2 separate regions of the Homo sapiens genome follow, and region 1 is linked to region 2. The links are contacts of gene promoters, found by promoter capture Hi-C in blood cells and fetal thymus (Javierre and others, 2016). All regions are on one chromosome and are shown on one strand. The core of a region is centred on a gene start or on the middle of the fragment in contact, and the rest is flanking DNA. Distances in the headings are between cores, read along the strand shown. Region 1 overlaps DET1 (DET1 partner of COP1 E3 ubiquitin ligase). Region 2 holds the start of ABHD2 (abhydrolase domain containing 2, acylglycerol lipase).

What was found. Contacts are between HindIII fragments. The CHiCAGO score rates a contact against its expected background, and 5 or more counts as called.
Region 1: a fragment that was not itself captured here is called in contact with the fragment with the promoter of ABHD2 in region 2 in 1 of 17 cell types (total B cells); the score reaches 5.7 in total B cells.

Annotation. Positions count from the first base shown.
Region 1 is chr15:88,531,291-88,534,777 of GRCh38, reverse strand. DET1 (DET1 partner of COP1 E3 ubiquitin ligase) reads left to right here. Exons shown (of 5, transcript NM_001144074.3): 2 at 3,063-3,487. The coding sequence starts at 3,073. Among named protein-coding and RNA genes, the nearest start is that of DET1, 14 kb to the left of the region's middle. The HindIII fragment of the contact is 636 bases long and covers 1,920-2,555 here.
Region 2 is chr15:89,086,741-89,090,127 of GRCh38, reverse strand. It overlaps ABHD2 (abhydrolase domain containing 2, acylglycerol lipase), which reads right to left and starts at 1,672. Exons shown (of 11, transcript NM_152924.5): 1 at 1,565-1,672. It overlaps LOC124903573, which reads left to right. Exons shown (of 7, transcript XM_047433432.1): 5 at 1,196-1,293; 6 at 1,442-2,060; 7 at 2,187-2,567. The coding sequence ends at 2,401. RefSeq lists enhancers at 1,013-1,532, 1,474-1,653, 2,264-2,909. The HindIII fragment of the contact is 11,698 bases long and covers 24-3,387 here.

The DNA.
Region 1 (3,487 bases), core at 988-3,487, 560 kb after region 2:
CTCTCTTTAGGCTATGGTTCTAATGGCAGATGAATTTTCAGAAAGTCTTTGCAGTGCTATTTGGATCTGTCCCATGTATGTGACATTCAGTGGCCAGTCTGCAATCTGGGTGTTGATTATTTCAGTTCTCAAAGCCTTTAGTATGATTTGGACCAGATCCACACGTGTGCAGCTTGGGAGTTCATGAACAACTTCATGATGTTACTTTTCTGAGCTCCTCCCCATCTGATATCTCCCCAGTACCTTCTGGTTCCACTGGGGTCTCCCTTTTGATCCTCTGATGACAAAATTGGGGCTTTAATTATCCTTCCTTGCAACACACTTGCTCTTCAAGCAGCAGGAGAACCAGGGGAGACAATGTTAACCTCACTGCCCATTCAGTGGTACTTTATTGTTAGCCAATTGGTTTTTCTCATATGCCTGTCTTATGCATTCTGTCTAGGTTTTATAGCTGCATTTTTAGTGGGAGAGAGAAGGTGGTGTTTGATTATTCCATCTTATCTGGCAACAGCTTTATAACTTAAGTTTTTCACTAAATGCCGTTGACTTTTATGGCCTGTGATTTAACTTTGATTTGAATCAAGGTATAATAAAACAATTAGAAGACTTTGCCATATAATAGATGCCCCATAAATATTAAAACATATTTTTATTGTGATTTTAAAATAGCCTAACATTTACCGTCTTAACTGATTGTAAGTGTACAGTTCAGTAGTATTAAGTATATTCACATTGTGAAATTGATCTCGAGAAGTTTTTCATCTTGAAAATCTGAAAAGTCTAACCCATTCAACAGCACCTTCTCTTTCCCCTCCTGCTAGTCCCTGGTGACCACCATTCTTCTTTGTTTCTGTGAATTTGATTCCTTTTTCTTTTTTTAATGATAAGTATTTTACATTAATTTTTTTTTTTTTTTTTTTTTTTTAGAGATTGGGTCTTGCTCTGTTGCCCAAGCTAGACTCAAACTCCTGGGCTCAAGTGGTCCACCTCAGCCTCCCAAGTAGCTGGGATTACAGGTGTGTGCTATGGCACCTGGCTGTTAAATTTGATTACGTTTGATACTTCATTTAAGTGGAATCATACAGTATTTGTCTGTTTGTGATTGGCTTATTTGACTTCACATAATGTCCTCAAGTTTCAGTGATGTAGCATATGTCAGAATTTTCTTCCTTTTGAAGGCCGAGTAATATTCCTTTGTGTGTATATACCATATTTTGTTTATCCACTCATCCATCAGTGAACTTTTGGGTTGCTTCCATCTCTTGACTACTATGAATAGCGCTGATATGAACATGGGTGTGCAAATATCTCTTAGAAATCCTGCTTTCAGTTATTTTGGATTTATACCCAGAAGTAGAATTGTTGGATCTTATGGTAGTTCTAATTTTCTTCAAGGAACCTTCATACTGTTTTCCTTAGTAGCTGTACTATTTTTCAGTTCCACCAACAATGCACAAGGGTTCAACTTCCTCTATGTCCTCAATGAAACTTGTCATTTTCTTTTTTTAAAAAAAGCAGTCGTTCTAATGGGTGTGAGGTGATATCCCATTGTAGTTTTGATTTACATTTCTCTGATGATTAGTGATGTTGAGCATCTATCTTTTCATATGCTTTGTGGCCATTTGTATAGGAGAAATGTCTGTTCCAGTACTTTGACCATTTTAAAATTGGGTATATGATTTTTTGTTATTGAGTTATAGGAGTTCTTTATATGTTCTAGATATTAACCCTTTATCCAATATATGATTTGCAAATATTTTCTTCCATTCTGTAGAAAGCCCTTTCACTCGGTTGATTGTGTCCTTTGATCACAGAAGTTTTAAGTTTGATGTATTCCCATTTGTCTATTTTTGTCTTGGTCGCCTATGCCTTTTGTGTCTTATCCAAGAAATCACTGCCAGATCTGATGTCATGAAGCTTTCCTCCTGTATTTTCTTCTAGTAGTTTTATAGTTATGGGTCTTATATTTAGATTCTTTTCCTATTTTGGGTTAATTTTTGTATAGGGTGTAAGATAGGGTCTGACTTCATTCTTTTGCATGTGGCTATTCAGTTTTCCCAACACCATTTGTTGAAGTGACTGTCCTTTTTCTATTGAGTAGTAGTAGGACCTTATCAAAGATTGTTTAACCATATATGCCAGAGTTTATCTGTGGGCCATTTCATTGGTCTGTGTCTGTCTTTATCCAGTACCACAATTTTTTGATTACTGTGGTTTGTAATATATTTTGAAATCAAGAGGCTTGAATCCTCTTTGTTCTTTTTCAAAATTATTTTGTGTATTTGGAGGCCCTTGAGATACCATATGAATTTTAGGATGAATTTTTTATCTTTGTGAAAAGTGCTATTAGGATTTTGATAGGGTTTGTATTGAATCTGTAGATTATTTTGGGTAATATGGATATCTTAACAGCCCAATAAATATTTTTTGCTGGAATGAATGCACATTGAATATGATTTTTTTGTTTGTTTGTTTGAGATAGAGTCTCACTCTGTTGCCCAGGCTGGAGTGCAGTGTTGTGACCACGGCTTATTGCAGCTTCGATGATCCAAGCTTAAACAATCCTTCCACTTCAGCCTCTCAAGTAGCTGGAACTACAGTCATGTGCCACCATGCCTAGCTAATTTTTATATTTTTTTGTAGAGACAGGGTTTTGCCATGTTTTCCAGGCTGGGCTTGAACTAGTGAGCTCAGGTGATCCACTTGCTTCGGCCTCCCAAAGTGTTGGGATTACAGGTGTGAGCCACTGCGCCCAGCCGAATGTGTCTTATACTGTTCAAATTTGTAGTTGTAGGTTTTTTTCTGTTGAACTTTCCCAACAGCTGAGCATACTTGGAAGGTATTCCTAGTGAACTAGATCCTTCCCTTAGACCTGTTTCTAGACTTAGAAATGTTAGGACCACTTACTCAGTATAATCTGGGAAGTAGTAATGCCAGTCACTGTCATCTTGGGAGCTCCTAGGTTCAGGATATAAGAAGAGAAATCTGTTTCACTTGTATATATTTATATTTTGGTAAATTCTGTTTCACTTTCTTGACTTCTGCTTTACTTTTCTGTTTAGAGATGTGATAATGGATCATCATGTTTCTACCATCAAGCCTCGAAGAATCCAAAACCAAAATGTCATTCACCGCTTGGAACGCCGGCGGATCAGTTCAGGCAAGGCAGGTACCCACTGGCACCAAGTCCGAGTGTTCCATCAGAATGTCTTCCCCAACTTCACAGTTGTCAACGTTGAAAAGCCTCCTTGTTTCTTGCGTAAATTCTCACCTGATGGACGCTACTTTATTGCTTTTTCTTCAGACCAGACATCTCTTGAAATCTATGAGTACCAGGGCTGCCAGGCAGCAGAGGACCTACTGCAGGGATACGAAGGAGAAATCCTGTCCAATGGCAATGACCAGCGGTCAGTGAATATCCGGGGCCGGCTCTTTGAACGCTTTTTTGTCCTGCTGCACATTACCAATGTTGCGGCCAATGGTGAGC
Region 2 (3,387 bases), core at 423-2,922:
ACTGAGAATGGGCAAACTAAGCTTGGAGTGAAATAAGTCATGCACTGGCTAGATCTAAATACAGTCAAGAGATCAACCCTTAGTCATGGGCCTGTGATGACCAACCAGCCCTGTGACCACCCCAGGCCTCAGTTTCCTCACCTGTGCATTGAGGAGACTGAATGAGAGTCCACCTAATTAGACTTAGATAGAGATGAGCTCTATCTAAGGTGCCTTCAGCTCTAAAATGTCACAGTCCGTGCTGACTACCAGCTGTATATGGACTGCTTTCTGACTAGATGTTCAAAGATTAATTCATCCTAAAACACACAGCAAGGTGTGTTAAGATTCTTTCTCTGCCTCCTGACCTTTAGATTATTATGTTCTCTCTATTCCGGCAAATGACAGAGGGTAGTGAAGGATTTCTCTTTTGGACTCTGCTTAATGTGGCTGTAAGGAAACGGCCTTCGAAAAGCTCTGGGCACAGATCTTGTTGACTCTGCCAAACCTGCAGTCTCTCCAGGTCCCTCTGTGGAGCCTGTTCTTGGAACATGCCTTTGGATTTGGTTACTGGAATGCAGGTGAAACTGACAAACTGGAGGTCCAGCAACCAAAAAAGAGAGATTGGGAAGATTAAGAGAGCGGTCCATGGTAGTTCAAATACAAGGAGTTTCACAGTGGCTAAATAAACCTCTATCTTTTTGTATAATCCAGTCTCTTTGCTAACACCCACTCTTGAGAGCTGAAACCTCAAAATTCATTATGGGTGAATTCAACAGCCACTTGGAACCTAATGGACCCCCAGAAGTACTCTTCTCAAGCTAGGCATCAAAGGCCACTTAGAGTGCATTTGTGGGTAGAGAAGGCCCTTACAGATGGGTCATGCAGTCCTCCCTTGGGAGTCCTAAGCATCCGACACAGGTGGCTGTCATCAGGCCACTGCTTGGACATCGCCAAGGTCGAGGCGCTAGCTGCCCGGCCTGGCAGGCAGCCTCCTGCGCTGCTGGACAGCTCTAGCTGTGGGAAAAGCTCACGAAGGGCCTAGAACAGTGCCGGTCGCGGGGCCGAACTCGGTAAATGTGCTTCCAAGTGGGTCAAAAGCTGCCTTTCTAGAACTTAAACCCACTGGTCCTGCGTGAGCCCCTGGAGCCCCGAAACACAGAGGCCTCTCGGGTATCTCGGGCTGTAATCAGGCCCCTCGGCCCTCTCCTTCCAGGTGCGGATCCCGGACCTTCTTCGCCGAGCCTGAACCGGCAGACCCCTCCCCAGGCCCCTGAAGACCCAGGAGTGAGCACCAATGGGGGAAAGGCCGCGGTCGGGGTTGTCCCCAACCTCGGTTCCTCGGGCAGAAGGGGACAAAGGGCCTCAGGAAGGCGTATCCCCCGCCGCGATCTGGGCTGTCCCCACCACTGGGCAAGCCAGCCCCTGGGACCCCCACGGCGCCAGATGACAGGCCCCCCAGGATCCCCTCAGGCTGCGGCGTGATGGGCCGAGCTACGCCGGGGACCTCGGGGCTCGGAGATTCGGTTCGACGGGTCCGGGGTGCGATCCCCGCTCCGCGGAGCTCGCTCGGCCGTGGCTTTACCTGCGTGTGATTGACTACAGGTGCTCAGCTCGCCCCCAGTCTGGTTCCTGCAGCTCCCCGGCTGCCAGCGGCGCTCATGGATATACAGCCGGAACCCCTGGCCAGTGCAGCTCCCGCCGCTACCGGCCCCGCCCAAGTAACTGCCGCCACGCCCCTGACGACCGCTTCTGCCACGCCCCTAACCACGGAAACCGCTTGTTCATTGGGCAGTTCAGCCGCTTCTCCACTTGCCCCGCGCGCTCATTGCGTCTAGGAGGGGATCCATTGATCAGCGAAGCTGTTCCTCAGAGTGGAGGCGGGATTCTTAGGGGAGAGCTCCTCAGCAATTGGTTACATTTGACGGCTTTAGTCCAGGGACCCAGACGCTACTGGATAAGGCCAGCCCGGAGTGGGCGGGGAAAGGGGAGGAGGGCTAGAAGGTGGGTCGTGTTTGATGTCGATGGGGGCGGGGTGAAGAGACGGGTAATTGTGACCGCAAACTGCTTTAGAGGGCTGGGTAAGGTCAGCTGTCGACTGGGCTCAGAGGAATGAGGTCGGCTGGTAGCTCAGCTGCTGGTAGCTCAGCTGGGGCTCTTATGGGTCCAGGCCGACTGACTGACTCACGTGTACTCAAATTTCGCAGGGGTGAAATTTGAGGTCATATCCCGGGAGAGAGGAAGAAGGGTCGTGAGTCACCGAACCCGAAGGAGAGGAAAAGATGTGGAGGCAGCGGTCTATGGCCTCTTCCAGCTCCGGACGGGGGATGGGGACGCTCTGGGCAATACGGGCCTCAGTTATTGTCCCACTGTCCTTTCAACCCTTAACCAACCCAGTTGGAGGCCGCCTGGAAGAATGTAGCCTTGGAACTAGGGCCTGGAATTGGGGCTCCTACCGGTTGTGTGGGCTTGGGCAAGTCACTTAACCTTCCCGCATGCTCCCTTCACTTGGCAACTGAGGGTAACAATAGTAGTTGATGAGAAGATTAAATAAACTCTGATAAATGCCAACAGTGGCTGGCACTCAACAGGCATTCAATCAAGGCTGATTCTTCCCCCATCACCCACTCACCTCATCCGGCTGGGAAACTAGGCCCATTTCTAAAATTCTATGAGCCTGAAACTGCTTTTGCAATGGCATGTCGTGTACCAAGAATAGAACACTTGAGCGACTTGAAATGCAACCCCTGTAGGGCAGACAAGGCCACCCTACCAAGGCCCCATAGGGCTCGGAGAGAGGGAGCAGGGGATGAAATGAGAGGAGCGATTTAGTCAGAGAAGGGAAGTGGCATTTGTTACCATGTAAATTTTTCCCAACATATTTCAGGTTGTGACAAGGAACAGTGGGCTGGCTCAAGTTTTATGGAGCGTAACCAAATAACATCCTTTGAAGGCTGATCAGCACCGGACCAGAAATCATTGCATGAGCTCTATCTGTCAGAGACCCCTGAAACCCATTCCCCATTCTGAAGGTGTAGACATCACAGAGTGTGGACAGAAATAGCTTCTCAGGCCTGAATGTAGCCCCAGACCCTTTGTGTCTGTCTTTGAAAGAACTCACAGCCATGGTACATCAGAGTGAAGGAGAAGAAAGAATCCTTTGCCATTGCTCTATTTTTCATTCAGTTGTCATGTTACCTTGAAAAAAAAAGGTTTCATCTCAGTGTTTATATATTCCTCTGTATTCTCTTTCATCTTGGAAAAGAAAAACCCAGGCTTCAGTAGCAAAGTCTCTTAGTGATGAACCCCATCGTCCTGACTCTGAGTTAAAACAGTTTGGACTTCCAAAAAAGAGCTTTAGATTATCACTAGATAAGTATATAAGGTAATGCATATGTTAACTAGCTT